2 separate regions of the Homo sapiens genome follow, and region 2 is linked to region 1. Evidence: promoter capture Hi-C in 16 types of primary human blood cells and fetal thymus (Javierre and others, 2016). All regions are on one chromosome and are shown on one strand. The core of a region is centred on a gene start or on the middle of the fragment in contact, and the rest is flanking DNA. Distances in the headings are between cores, read along the strand shown.

The links. Contacts are between HindIII fragments. The CHiCAGO score rates a contact against its expected background, and 5 or more counts as called.
Region 2: a fragment that was not itself captured here is called in contact with the fragment with the promoter of EGFL7 in region 1 in 13 of 17 cell types (M1 macrophages, activated CD4 T cells, M0 macrophages and 10 more); the score reaches 9.9 in M1 macrophages.

The regions. Positions count from the first base shown.
Region 1 is chr9:136,656,587-136,664,280 of GRCh38, reverse strand. EGFL7 (EGF like domain multiple 7) reads right to left here and starts at 1,365. Exons shown (of 11, transcript NM_016215.5): 1 at 1,173-1,365; 2 at 658-873. LNCEGFL7OS (lncRNA EGFL7 opposite strand) reads left to right here and starts at 3,860. Exons shown (of 2, transcript NR_135132.1): 1 at 3,860-3,960. The HindIII fragment of the contact is 14,697 bases long and covers 1-7,420 here.
Region 2 is chr9:136,486,164-136,493,474 of GRCh38, reverse strand. No RefSeq gene overlaps it. Among named protein-coding and RNA genes, the nearest start is that of C9orf163, 6.3 kb to the right of the region's middle. RefSeq lists a silencer at 4,565-4,614. The HindIII fragment of the contact is 811 bases long and covers 5,415-6,225 here.

The DNA.
Region 1 (7,694 bases), core at 116-2,615:
CCCAAAATGAGGCCGCCCCACCCTGCAATCCAGTGGCCACTGCTCTGGACCAGGGGCCCTGGAAGCCCCTGGCACGTGGTCCAAGGGACGACCAGAGCAGCTGCTGTCAGGGGGCGTTCCTCATCTGACTGGGGAGTCCTAGGCCTCCTGGCGCCCTGAGCCCACGCAGGGCAGCTCTTACCTAGCCCCCAGCAGTGAAGTGTTCAGAGTGGGGCCTAGGGGGCCTCTGGGTGGGAGAGCCACCGCCACCCTCCCTGTCCCCTGCCCCTGGCCTCATCTCTGGATCTGCGGTCACTTAACCCTTTGACCTGCCTCCCCACCTCTCCTGCCTGAGTCTGGAAGAGGCGATGGAGCAGAAAGGGCAGCTCCAGGGCTGCCCCGACTCAGCCCTCGCTGCCCCCATCCTGGCTAGGCACCATTTGGAAAGTGGGGGTTCTCAGACAGGCTTCTTGGTGTGGACGTATGAGACAAAAAGTGGGGCCTTCTAGGACCCACTGTGGTTTTGGGGGCTTTGGGATGGGGCTTCAGCCACTCTGCATGAGGCTGGGGAGAGGGAGAACAAGGGCGTCTCCAGGGTCCAAGGGGGGCCCACAGAGTCACCCATTTGCCCACCGCACCCAGCAAGTCATCCCTAAGCCCGAGCCCCACGTCCCGCACCCTGGATTCACACTGCTCATCCTGGCTACAGATGTGGCTTTGGGGTTCCTCTCCCTCGGGGCCAGTTCCCCTCCCCGGGCCCCCGTTGGGTTGCTCATCCACTGCTAGGGAGAAGATGAGGAGACCTCAGCCCTCGGGACACCGCAGGGCGTAGCGCGAAGCCCCTCACAGCGGGCCCAGCCAAGCTGAACTTTGCTGCCAACCACAGGGGCTGCTCTGCGGAGGGAGAGAAAGGCCAGAGGGTGGGGTTCAGGGGAAGGGCGACTGGGGGTGAAGTGTTGGAGTCAGCAGACTGGATTGGGATCTACGCTGGGCCACCCACTAGCAGGCGTTTGGCCAAGGGGCCTCAGTGGCCTCCTCTGTGCAGAAGGGGAGGAGACTGGGACCCCTCCCCTGTGACCTCGCTGGGGAGCAGATTGCGGAGCAGCCAGCAGGCGCCACGGTCAGCGGGAGTGAGGGGAATGGGGGGCCCGCCCTGTCCGCTCCCTGCCCCTCCGAGGCCACCCCTGCCATACCTGATGCTGCTGGAGCCCAGGCGTGGCCATGGTGGCCGCTGCTGTGTCCTGGGACTGGAGATGGACCCTAGCCCTTGCTGGGGCCTCAGGCCCACTGGCCGCCTGGAGGCACCTCCTGAGGCCCACCTGCCTGGCCTGTCCACAGGAGCCTCCCTTGCAGCCGTGCAGGGCCAGCTTGGTGCAGGGAGGCTCCCCCCGGGCGAGGAAGGGCGGCTTTTTATGCTCCGTCCTGGGTAATCGGGATTGGGATGGGCCCTTCCCAGCCGGACTTCCTGTGTGTGTTCTCCGCTGATAACGGGGACGTGTCGTCGGACAAACAGGAGGCTGAGGGGGGTGGGGGCCACCGTGTGAGGGGGCCTGGACAAACTGCCCAGGGGTGGGGAAGCCGTCCCCTGGGCCATCAGAGTCTAGCCCCAAAACAGCCAGAAACCAGGGCTGGACCCTGCTGGAGACCCTGGGGAGAGTGTGGGGTGGAGGACGCAAGCCCAGGGCCCTCCCAGGACCGTGGGTTCACAGGCCATGCTCACGTGTGGCTGGACAGAAGGGAGCTGCTGCATCTTTGGGCCAAGGATGCTGGGCCCTCCCCCAGGACACCCCCAGATGTGTGTGACACAGCACGGGAGCTTGGAGGGGCCCCAGGCCAAGGCAGGGACCAGCCACACAGGAGCCTTGACCAGTGAGGGATGGCGAGTGGCGAGGCCCGGCAGGAAGGGACTGGGGTGGCAAGACAGGCTGAGCGGTCCGAGAACAGCCTGTTCCGTGGGTCCCTGAGGCCCATGGTGAGGGGGTGACGGGAGGGGACAAGCATGGAGTCCAAGCTCTCTCCCCTAAAAGAGCTGCCAGTGAGGCTGTGAGCCCCTGCCCTGGAGATGGGCAAGCAGGCCCAATGCCCTCAGCCCCACTTCACAGGGGTGCTCTGGGCTGGCAGCAGGCTGCGGCCGGGGGTGTGGGGAGGGATGCGGGACACTGTGGGTGATCACAGGGGGTGCTCTGTCAGATTCCCGGCGTCCCAGCCTCCAGGTCTGACCCTCATCTTCCCTGTTCACACGGCAGTGGGAGCCTCAGGCCGAGCGAGCCACTGTGGCAAAGGTGGGCTGGGTGGGAGGGGACACGGTGCCGAAGGGAGCTGGGTGGCTTTGGAGGGCACGCCTGGAACCCCAGGAGAGCAGGGCCTCTCCCAACCCCGCTGTCCGTGGGGTGTGAGCCCTGCTTTGGGGTCAGCCCCTGTCGGCCTGATGCCTGGGACACCCCCATTTCCCTGGCCCTGGGCGGTCAGTGTGCCCCCACCTCTCCAGCCCCACTCAGCTGGGCAACTTGAGCCAAGGGAGGCTGGGGCAGCTGGGGAAATTCCCCACGGGACTTTGGAGGGCAGGTGGAAACCTCACCCACACGCGATGCGCCTCCCCCTCAAGCAGGAACCAGCTCCCCTCTACCCACGGCCAGGGGAAGGGTCTGCTCTGGGCGCCAGGCTGTGGTCAGGGCTCAGGGCCTCAGCCAGGCAGGACCTCACTCTTCTCCGGGCCTGTTTCTGCACCTGCTTCATGGTCACTGAGCTGGTTTAAGGGGGCGCTCCTGGCACCCAGGCACCGCTGGTCTGAGCGGGAGGGGCCTCTTTCCAGAGGTGGCCCCTGCCCTGAGGTTGGAGCAGATAGGCAGAACCCCATTTCCCCACCTCCTCCACACTAGGCCACCCTGGGATCTGGCCCTTACCCTACTGGCTGCACCCTCAGCCGCCCTGTGCCTCCCTCGGCCCCCTGGCTCTCCCACCCAGGGGCTCATCCTGCCCTGGCCAGCCTGTCCCTCCAGCTGTCAGGAGGGGGTTGCAGTGAAGAACAAGTTGGCAGCAGGCCGGGCCCAGTCCCCCAGGCTGTCACCCAGGAGTCCAGTGCCAGGAGGACAGCCTGGGGAGGACCCAGACTCTGCCCTCGCCCCTGGCTGTAAGCACAGCAGTCAGTTCACCGGGAAGGCCCCCAGCGGGCCAAGCCTTAGCAACTCGTGCACTCGGCTACTTAGCTACTCCACCGTATAGGGGCCCAGTAGGCTTGTGCCCCCATCCCAGGAGGTGCCCTCTTGCCCTCTGCCTGCATCCCTGCGGCCTGCCCCCTCCTCCCCCACCTGCATGCCCCTGGATCTGCCCTGGCCTCCTGGTGGAAGGACCCACAAGCATGGGGTGGGCTAGATCCAGCCCTTTCTGTGTACAGAGGGGGAAACTGAGGCCCAGAGGGAGAAGTGACCGGCCCAGGTGAGCCTGGAGGCCGGACAGGGCTGGGATGCTCGGCACAGGAGGCTGCCTCACCCTTCCTTCCTCTTCTTGGGGAGCCCCATGTCCCCCACCCCAGCTTGTCCTATGTCCCAACCTGGAGCAGCCCCTGTCATCAGACCTATCCGGCCAGGGGACAGCTCGGGGCAGGAATAGCTAAGTAGCCGAGTGCACGAGTTGCTAAGGCTTGGCCCGCTGGGGGCCTTCCCGGTGAACTGACTGCTGTGCTTACAGGCAAGGGGCGAGGGCAGAGTCTGCGTCCTCCCCAGGCTGTCCTCCTGGCACTGGACTCCTGGGTGACAGCCTGGGGGGCTGGGCACCGCCTGCTGCCAACTTGTTCTTCACTGCAACCCCCTCCTGATAAGCTCTGCCCTGCCCCCAGCCCCTCCCCAGGCCAAGACTAGACCCTCCCCAAGGGAAGGAGGCCTGGGCTCAGGCCCAGAGTGCCAGCTTTGCCCTATCCCATAGCCTGGAGCCACCACAGGAGGGGCACTCCACTCTCTTGGGCTCCTGGAGCCTCAGAGGCAGGTACAGGAGGTGGGCTGCGGCCTTGCCCTAATGTCGGGGGCCCAGCGGGGACAGGAGGGGCGGGGGGTTGGCAGGGGACAGACATGGGTTCTTGGACGCCAGAGGGTACTGGGGGTCCAGGGGGTTGGGGCTGCCCCCGGGTTCTGGTATGGGTGGAGCACACTCTGTGCCCAAGGCCCAGGGGCTCAGCAAGGGGCAGGCGGGCCCCTCCCTCACCCTCCGGTCCTTGGAGGTGCCCCCTTCCCTGCCCTGGCCGCTCTGGTGGTGTGTGTTTGGGATCATGGCACAGACCTTCAGCAGGGAATCATTTTGGGAGTCAGCAGTGCCTCCTGCCCAGGCTCCAGCCCCACAGAAGCCAGGCCGGGCCCCACGCCTGGCCTCCTCCCCTCACCTCAGGGGCCCAGCACAGAGGGGGAGACCTGGTGGGAGAGTGTGGCCACCCCAAGGCCTGCGCCTGTCCTCATCTGGGCACTGGAAGGTCTGGAGCCCAGGGCTTCACCCTGCCTGGGGTGGTGTCAGAGGTGGAGGCCCGGCAGGGGCAGGAAGCTGGAGCTCTGGTCCCAGCTTTGTGCCCCACACAGGCCTCAGTTTCCCCATTGTCTCTCTTGTCAGCAGGGCCATGTTGTCCAGTGGCCTTCCAGCCACCTGGGAATGTTCTGAGGTTAGTTATAAGGGGAAGGGCTGCCTTACCTTCCCAGAGCGTGCTGGCTGGGCAGAGAGGCGTGGAGGGGCCTGGCAGAGCCCCCCGGGCCCTCCCGGGCCTCCCGGACCCCTCACCAGGGTGCTTTTGGCCTCTGAAGCCCCAGGAGAGGGCAGACTAAGCCCCTGGCAGAGGCCAGCCTGGGCATCTCAGGTGGCGCGAGACAGAGGGGCACCAGGCGCGGCCGCGGGAGCCGGGCTGCAGGAGGTGCAGGAGGAGGGAGTGAAGCAGAGTGCGGGAGGGATGGGGCTTCCTGTTTACCCCGAGCGCCCCCCGGCCTCGGACGGGCTGGCTCTGTCAGCCACGGATGTGGTGGAACCTTCCCATCAGAGGACGTCCCGGACCCGACGGGGGCTGGAGGGAGCTGCCAGGCAGGGGTGCCTGCGGGCAGAGGAGCCGTCTGCTCCCGAGCGAGGGTTTGGGCAGGGAGAAGTGAGGGTCCCCAGCCTTTCCTCTCACCTCTCCCTGCCTGCTCCGGCCCCTGACCCACGTCCCAGAGCGACACCCTCTGAGTTGAGGGGCTTCCATTTTCAGAGGAGGCAGCTGGCTCACAGGTGGAAGCCGCTTGTTCAAGGGTGGAAAACGGAGGCCCAGGACTGGAGTCCGGGCGCCTGAGCCTCGGGGGTCGCCCGGGGGACCCCTCGCCCTTCCCCTGGCCGCTCCCGTCTCCCTTCCTGGGGCTGCCCACTGCTCCAGCTGATGGCGTGGAGGAGTCCATGGCCTTGTGGGCTGGCTTCTTGGCAGGTCCCCACCGGCTTTGCATCTGAGTGTCCCCTTCTCCTGACATTGCCCCTACCCTGGTCCGGTCCACCCCGCTTCCTGCCTGGATAACAGTCGCCCCTCCTCGGCCTTGCTGGGCGCCGCTGCCCTTCACACCCAGTGCTCAGGGAGTTTCGCGGAGGGACACATCGGGTTGTGTGACCTCCTCCTAAGGCGCCACCACACTCAGCACAAAGTCCAGTCCTGCCGGTGCTCCATGCCCCTGCCCGGGTGCGCGCTCCACAGGGCAGGGACCCGGACCTGGAAGAGGTGACTTGGAGCAGGTGCGCAGAAAGTGCGGAGTCCCCCACTGCGCCGGGCGTGTCACCCGTTGGTGGCCTGGCAAACTTGAACTGCAGCGAGACGTGGGCTTAGAGATGGGAAAGTGAACCTGAGAGGGGCCGGCAGCCCGGGCAGGAGACACAGCCCCTTGGCCACACCCCAGGGGACCGGCATGCCCCACTGCTGGCAGCAGGTGATGGGAGCATCCCTGGGAGAACAGACTCCCCCCAGTTCTGCACACACTGCTGGTGCCTTGGAGCTCTTACCAGCCTGGGGGCTTAGCTTTGAACATCTTCGTGTTATCTTTTGGCAGACGTGAAGATAAATGCAGTTCCCTTAGGCTGTCCCTGGGGGGTCCCCAGTCCCAGGAGGGGCAGGAAGCCAGGGAATGCCCTGCAGTTCTCAGGTCCCCTGCCAGCAGTGCAGGAGCATTTGGCCGCCCCACACCCTTGTCAGCACTTGCTGTTGTCTGTCTTTTTCATTTTAGCCATTCTGATGATTTTGCAGTGGTATTGCTGTATTGTTATTTTTGTTCATGTAGGAAGGTGAAGAAAATCTTATTTTTTAAACGGCAGAATCCGTCCCTAGGGAGAGACTTGCTTCACAGGGGAGACACCTGGCTGGGGTGAGAGCGCAGTGTGGGCTCAGGGGGCTGTGTGCTGCAGGCTCCGTGGATGTCCCCAGCAGCACCCAGGGAGTCTGGAGGGGAGGAGAGAGAAGAGGCCTCCACTGTGGAGTGAGCCTGGGAGAGGGGTCCCCAGATGGACACTGGGTGCTGCCTGGCAGCTCACGAGGTGGGCACTGGTGGTCTGACTTGAGAAAGCCTTGTGGAGCAGCGTGAGCCCCAGATGGAGCCCCTAGTGTGTGGGGCACCCCTCCCCTGGGGATGCCTGTGCTTCTGGGGTCTGTGGGCTTCTGGGAAGGGTGTGGGGGGTCCCTCCCTGGAGGCTTCATCCCTGTCTCTCTTGCGGGGTTGTCATAGAGCTCCAGTAGAGTCAGGGACCATGGGTGCCCTGAAGGCTTCTCTGCCTCAGTTTCCCCTCGTGTCAGACCAGGGCATGGAGGGTCTTCGGAGCCCTGGGGAGGGTCCCGGGGTCTCCAGTTCCCAGTCATGGGGCAGACAGTTTGTGCCTGGGTCCTTCCCAGGAGGGAGGAAGGAGGGGTCCGTAGCTTCCAGCAGATTCTTGAAGGAGGGTCATGTGACCCTCGAGTGAGTTCAGAGTCCCCACCCAATGCAGCTGCCAGGGCCTCGCGTGTCCCTTCGGGGTCCTCAGCGCCACGAACGGGGCTGGTCCCAGTGTCCAGCTTCTGGGATCCCGCTCCTGCAGGCCCTGGAGACTGCTTCCCACCCCTGCTGAGGTTCCCATGGGGCTGAGGAAGGGGGACTTGCCGGCCCCCTGAGGCTGCCCTCACGCCTGGCGCCAGTACATGGCACAGAAGTCCCACTCGGTGGGCTGTGATTTGCCCAGGCCCGACAGATGGGGCAGCCGTTAACGTCAAGAGGAAAAAGCACTTCATCTCCCGCGACGGAAGGAGAAGTTCCCGAGAGCTCAGGGCCTGTGGGGCAGCCAGTTGAGGTGGCGGCAGTTCAGCAGCCCGGCCCCCAGCTGGAGCCGCCCTGTCCTCTCCCCACCTGCCCGCCTGGGGAGATCTGGGGGCCGCCCTGTCCTCTCCCCGCCTGCCCGTGTGGGGAGAGCTGGGGACCAGGCGCTCCAAGCTTTTAGGGGAGAAAATAGCGGGAGAGACGGTGTACGCCTGTGAGCAGGTGCTGCGTTCGGGTGTCTCCTCCTGGGGCCGTTGCCCTGGCCCTGCGAAGTGGAGGCAATGATCTGACCCCATCTACAGATGAGGAAACTGAGGCCCCATGGGAGTGGCTGCTCAAGCTCCCAGGGCCTTCCCCGGCAGGGCTGGACTGGAACCCAGAGCCACAGGGACCCCAGTCTCCGCAAGGCACAGTGGTGGGGGGCCCCTCCCCTGGGGATGCCCGTGTGTC
Region 2 (7,311 bases), core at 4,571-7,070, 180 kb after region 1:
TGAAATTCCACTCCTGGGGGTCTGTCCGAAAGAAGTGAAAACAGGGACTCAAACAAACGCACGTGGCCACTTGCTGTCCCGGCATCACTCAGTACAGCCACAGACAGCCTGAGCGTCCACTGCCAACGACGGGTCAGCAAAACCGTCTGCTGTGACGGTGAACCTTAGTGTCAGCTTGGCCGGGCCATTTCGCCAAACGGAGTGTGTCTCTGAGGTGTTCTGGATGAGGTTCGCATTTGCATCCACAGCCCGGGTAAGGCAGTCCGCCCTCCCCAGTGTGGGTGGGCCCCGTGCGGTCCGCTGAGGCCTGGGGAGAACAATAGGCCGAGTGCCAGGGGTCCTCCCACCCAACCGCTTGCACTGGACATTGGTCTTTTCCTGCCTTCAGACTTGGACTGAAAACGTGGGCTCTTCCTGGGCCTGGAGCCCACCGGCCTTCGGACTCGCAACGCCATCAGGCCTCCTGCCTGCAACTGCAGACCCTGGGAACTGCAGGCCTCGAGGTCGTGTGGCCAATTCCCTGCAATAACCTCTCCAGTGGCACGTCTTATGGGCTCCGCTTGCCGGAAGAACCCTGACGAATGCGCACGAGGGAATATGATTCCACCGTAGAAAAGGAGGCGCTGACACCCACCATGCGGACAAGCCTTGGAAGCACGGTGCTCAGTGAAGGGTGCCGGCCGCAAAGGGCCGCAGGTGCAGTGACTCCATTTCTATGGGGTGCCTGTGGTCACCGAACCCATGGAGACAGAAAGTAGATTGATGGTTCCCAGAGCCGGGGGGAGGAGGAAAGGGGAGTGGCTGCTAAACGGCCCGGGGTTTTTTTTTGTTTTGTTTTGTTTTTATACTTTAAGTTTTAGTTTATTGTGGCACTGTTCACAATAGCAAAGACTTGGAACCAACCCAAATGTCCAACAATGATAGACTAGATTAAGAAAATGTGGCACATATATACCATGGAATACTATGCAGCCATAAAAAATGATGAGTTCATGTCCTTTGTAGGGACGTGGATGAAGACGGCCCGGGGTTTTACTTTGGAGTGACGCAAATGTTCTGGGCCCAGGGAGAGGTGGTGCGTGCACAGCCCTTCGAGTGCACTAAATGCCAATAACGCGGACACTTTTTTTTTTTTTTTTTGAGACGGAGTCTCGCTCTGTCACCCAGGCTGGAATGTGGTGGCGTGATCTTGGCTCACTGCAACCTCCGCCTCTGTGTTCAAGTGATTCTCCTGCCTCAGCCTCCAAAGTAACTGGGATTACAGGCCCCTACCACCACACCCGGCTAATTTTTTTGTATTTTTAGTAGAGATTGGGTTTCACCATGTTGGCCAGGCTGGTTTCAAACTCCTGATCTCAAGTGATCCACCCGCCTCGGCCTCTTAAAGTGCTGAGGTTACAGGCGTGAGCCACTGCACCTGGCCTAACTCGTACACTTTAAAGTGGTTAATTTTAGGTTCTGTGAGTCTCACCTCAATATGTTATTTTTTTTTTTTAATTAAAAAAAGTTTTTGAGACAGGGTCTTGCTCTGTCACCCAGGCTGGAGTGCAGTGGTGCCATGATAGCTTATTGCAGCCTCAACCTCCTGGGCCCAGGTGATCCTCCCACCTTGGTCTCTCTAGCAGCTGGGATTACAGGTGCACACCACCTCACCCACCCAATTTTTTTGTTATTTTTTGCAGAGATGGGGTCTCACTTTGTTGCCCAGGTTGGTCTCGAACTCCTGAGCTCATGCAGTCCTCTCCTCACCTTGGCCTCCCAGAGTGCTGGGATTACAGGTGTGGGCCACTGCGCCTGGCCACATATGCAACTTTAAATATTTCAGTAGCCACATTAAAAAGGTAAAAAGAAACAGGCAAAGTGTATATTAATACTACAGCTTAGTTAATCCAATATATCAAAAATATTATTTTAACACAACATAAAAAGTGAATGAGTTTTTTTTTGTTGTTTTTTGTTTTTTGAGACAGAGTCTCCCTCTGTCACCCAGGCTGGAGTGCAGTGGTGCGATCTCAGCTCACTGCAACTTCCGCCTCCCGGGTTCAAGCGATTCTCCTGCCTCAGCCTCCCGAGTAGCTGGGATTACAGGCACCTGCCACCACGCCCAGCTAATTTTTGTATTTTTAGTAGAGAGGGGGTTTCACCATGTTGGCCAGGCTGGTCTTGATCTCTTGACCTCGTGATCGGCCCACCTCGGCCTCCCAAAGTGCTGGGATTATAGGCGTAAGCCACCACGCCCGGCCGTGAATGAGATGTTTTATATTCTTTTTGTTTGTTTGTTTTTGGTACTGTGTCTTTGAAACCCAGGATGTACAGTACACTCACAGCACCCTAGATTGGGCCTGGCCACACTTTAAAAGGTGTTCAGTATCTCCAGGAGGCTCACGTCCAGATTCGGACTCTTCAGCAGGATGCCAAGGGGGCTCCAGACAGTTCCACCCAGCGCAGGAAAACACCAAGTGTATCTTCAGCCTGGTGACTCACTCCACGCCGCTGCCGGCGTGAACCCCGAGTGTGGCGCTGCGTCCCTCTGGATAGAGCAAAGGAGGGTCCCAAGAGCCCGGAGGCACCAACTCATCAGGGCCCACAAATCAGGCCCCCGGCAGGCAGGGCTGCCTCCATCCAAGAGGGAAGCACGGTGCCGTAGCCCCCGGGCTGCTCCAGGGATCGACAGGCCTGTGCTGCCTTCATCCCAAAAGTCTCACTTGCAAAGGGTGTCCGTGGGGCTCAACTGCGTGCTCAGCGGTGGACTGATTTCGTTCTGTGTGGCTCCTTATCTCATCGTGGACCCAAATCCACGAACCACACATGAGGAGCTCTGCTGGAGGGGGCAGCACTGGGCAGAGGCAGACAAGGGGGAGCGTCACGCGGCTGTTTCCCGTGGTGAGCATCCACCAGCAGCGGTTCCTGGTGGGACACCGACGTATTCGTCTGCAAAAGTAAAAGTGTTTCAAAACAAAACCGGGTCCAGCTTGGTCCCGGTGCGTTGAAAGTGCTGGCGTTGGCCAGGCGTGGTGGCTCACGCCTGTAATCCCAGCACTTTGGGAGGCTGAGGCGGGTGGATCACAAGGTCAGGAGATTGAGACCATCCTGGCTAACACGGTGAAACCCCGTCTCTACTAAAAAATACAAAAAATTAGCCGGGCGTGGTGGCAGGCGCCTGTAGTCCTAGCTACTTGGGAGGCTGAGGCAGGAGAATGGCGTGAACCTGGGAGGCGGAGCTTGCAGTGAGCAGAGATCATGCCTCTGCACTCCAGCCTGGGCGACAGAGCAAGACACTCTCACAAAAAAAAAAAAAAAAAAAAAAAAAAAAAAAAAAAGTGCTGGCGTTAGTGGAGGTCTCTCAGAGGGGGCGTTGCAGGGCCTCCCACGTTACTCAGGCTTTGCAGACGAAGACGCAGGGTCAGTGAGTGAGCGAGCTTTGGGAAAGGCTGTTCTTCAATCTGCATCTTGAAGGTGGCTGGGTGGCGCCTCAGTCGCCTGCCCCGACGTGACTCCCGATCTGGCTGCTTTGTGTCTTTGCTTTCCACCTGGCGGCTGCTGTCCTGGCTGTTGCTGTACCTCAGTGTCCTCGTGGGTCAAGTGGGGACCTGGGTGCTGGCCCTGGGCCTGCGATGGTGAGCTGCTGGTGCACGCTGGGCATGGGGTGAGGGCTCAGAAAGGGAACAGCTCTTGTTATCGTTAGGAGGTTTTCAATCGCATTCTTTGTTCTCCACCTGCATGCCGTGTTGGCACAGTTAAGCCTGGCGGCCCCTTCAGCAGGTGTCCTAACCGTCTACATTTTAAGATGGACAAGTCTAGGCTCATGGAGATTGCAGGACTGAGCTGCGAAGCTTTATTCATGCCCAACACGACAGGTGCCAGGTGCCCAGGGCCTCAGAGGTGGGTTTCCGTTGTTCTTCACACAACCTTGAACTTGTGGCCCATCCCTGGACCTTACAGCACAGGACACACTCTCAGTGTTTGTTAGGAATCTATAATTTTCTGCGGAGTCACGCGTGATATTTGCTGTGGCTTTTGGTATATCTTCCACTCTATCGCACGGGATTTTCTGGTGAAAATGTGCCCTGGGTCCACACAAACGTGCACATTCTACCACAGCCTTTGTCGTTCTGTTTGGCATTTTTCCATTTAATAAAATGAACCTTAGAAAAGTTATAACTACGGCCAGGCGTGGTGGCTCACACCTGTCATCCCAGCACTTCGGGAGGCCGAGGCGAGAGGATCACCTGTGGTCAGGAGTTCCACACCAGCCTGGTCAACTGGTGAAACCCCCCTCTCCACTAAAAATACAAAAATTAGCTGGGCACCATGGTGGGCACCTAGAATCTCAGCTACTTGGGGGGGCTGAGGCAGGAGAATTGCTTGAATTCGGAAGGAGGAGGTTGCAGTGAGCTGAGATTGCACCACTGCACTCCAGCCTGGGGGATACAGTGAGACTCGGTCTCAAAAAAAAAAAAGAAAAGTGTATAACTTTACTTTTTTTTCTTTTTGTGGAGATGGAATCTTGCTATGTTGCCCAGGCTGGTCTCAAACCCCTAGGTTCAAGTGATCCTCCCACTTTGGCCTCCCAAAATGCTGAGACGACAGATGGGAGCAACCTCACCTGGCAAGCGTGCACCTGTTACTTTGGCCGACTCAGAGGCGGCTCTCTGCCTCCCCCTGGTGGCACTGCTCTGCCAGCGCCCCACAGGTCCTCCCGAGTGACCACAGGGCAGAAATGGCCCTCACCCCACGCCCAGGGCCATCCCCCGCGACACTGCTATTATCCTGTTTTACACATGAGGAAGCTGGGGCTCAAAGAGGTTAGGCGACTTAGCCAAGTTCGCCCATTCACTGAGCCAGGGCTATGTGATTCCCGGTCCGTGTCAAACCACGAGGAGTCACCTGCCCTCAGAGGAGCAGGAAGGCCTGTAGAGTTGATGCCATCCAGCCTGGTGACTTTTCAGACAGGGAGACGGCTGCTCAGAGGGGAGAAGGGGGTTGTTGGGCCACTTTGCCAGGAGTCAATACCATGGCCAGCCTGGCATCGGATACTTTGCCAGGAGTTAATGCCACGACTGGCCTGGCATCGAATACTGGAGCTCTTCCCAGCTCCACCCGGGCCCTTTTCTCTTCCCTATCTACAGTCCCCAGGCCACCAAGTCCATGTCCACCACTTAAATCATCACTCAATGCTCAGGACTGTCTCCTGCCTGCTGTGTGTGAACCCCGTGCTGTGCTGGGGTTGTGCCCTCGGGGACTCTCCCGGGTTCTTGGGGACTCTCCTGGGTTCAGCGCCTCTTTCTCCTAGGCCACCCAAGGCTGCCTCCTGGGCCCTGGCTCTCCCTAGCCCCTAGCTCGAACCCTAACCTGGAGAGCCTTTGGGGCCCAAACTGGTTGCATCGCTCCTGGCTGAAAAGCCTCTGGAAGCTTCCTATACTTCCAGACACCACCTGCGGGTCTCTTAGCAAGCCTACAGAGTCCACACTAGCCTACGCCCACTGGCCGCTCACCCCGCAGAAGCCTCATGTGGACTGTTCACTTCAGCCAGAAATGCTCCTTCTCCTCCTGCCTGTCCCCAGCAGACACTGCATGGTGCCCTCTGTATGGGCACCTCTGTGGCCAGCCAGCATCCATGTTCCCCGGAGGCAGAGTCTGGGCTTGTCTGTCTCACGGCCACAGCCCAGCTCCTAGCAGTGCCTGGGGTACAGCAGGGACTCAGCAGACATCTGTGCATGGTTTGGGGATAGAGGACTCGTGAGCTTACCAAGACCCTGCCTCAGCTCAAGGACAGCCAGCAGTTCCTCCTGTGGCCCTGGGGGCCTGCGGTCCCAGGTTACTGTGACATCGACATCAGCCTTGAGCTTTCTGCTTCATTCCTAGTGCTTTTTAGCACCTTACATGGTAAGTACTTGGCTCAATGATTCCAGAAAAATGTTCTCTGAGACCTGCTATGTGCCCAACATGCTTGAAGATGCTGGAGATGAGGAGCATGACGCTCCTGCAGTAACGAGGCTGCTGGCAATGCCGTCAATGTGCCCTGTGCCTCCGGGGAGGCCTGGTGTGGAGGATACGCTTGCCACCCTGTGAGGTCAGGTCCAGGAAGTCCTTGCAGGAGGCCGGGAAAGGGCAAGGCTGTCACCTTCTTTTACAGGGGAGGAGGCAGAGGCTTGGAAAGGCCAGGTAGCTTGCCCAAGGCTGAACACCTGGGTAGTGGCTGAGGGTCTCTGACTTCTGGAAGCTTGCAGTACAGCTGGACACACGGTAGTTAGCCCACCATTGCTGGAGCCATCTTACCTGTGCTCTGCTAGCCAGGTGGGCGCCCAAAAGGAGATGCCTTTGCCTGTGCTGGGAGGAGGCGCTGTGGGACCCATTCCCCAGCAGCCGAGAGCAAGGGCACATGTGCCAGGGCGGGGATGCACCTTCAGCCTCATGTCAGCCCTGGGAAGGCCTAGAAAGTGGACAGTGCTGTCTCGCTGCACACCCCTGGCGAGCACACCGGGCGAGCACTCCAGGTTAGGGTGGGGCTCAGAGGTGAGTAGAACACGGGAAGGGGGTGGCAGCGTGGTGAGCATGTTTGCGGACCCTATGCTGTGTGCTTGGCAGGCCTTGTGCATGGAAGTGAGTGGGACTGAAGCTCCCTCCACACTGCCCACCATGGCCCTGGGGGTCTGGCCTTCCCCTCACAGAGGTGACTTCCTCTCCTCTATGAGGGTAAGAAGAGGAAGCCTGGCCCACCCTCTGGCCAGCCTGGTGGCATGCTGACAGGGAACCCCTGCAGGGGCCTGATGAACAAACGCCACAGAACAAACTCTACGGACCCTGCCTCCAGATCTGCTTCCTCTCCCCTGATTCCAGCTTCCCAGCCCTATTCCCTCCTCCTCCAGGAAGAGCTCCGTGTCAGTGCTCTCCACCTTGGAGGCCTTCATATGTTTTTTTGCCTGGACCACCCAGCTAACCGTCTCACAGAGACTGCCCCTTCCTCTCTCCAGGCCAAGCCTCCAGCTTCAGCGTCCAGGACTAAGGGTCTGTGTCAGGGGCTGAGGACAGTGTCCGGCAGGGAGCAGGCCTGCCCAGTAAACCTCCACAAGCACCCAGACATACTCGCCACTGCTATTTTACACCAGGTAGGAAAGAGGAGCAGAAGCTCACAGTGAGGGGCCGTCCTGCGTTCACTGAGACTGCTGCTCTGCTGGGGGCTCCCTGGAGGACCGCCACTGGCCCGCCAGTTGTCAGCAAAGAGCCAGGTCCACCCATCAGCCTCTGGCATTTCAGGCCCCTATCATAGGAGGCTATAAGCACAGGCTAGGGGTGCTGAGTGCCTGCCTT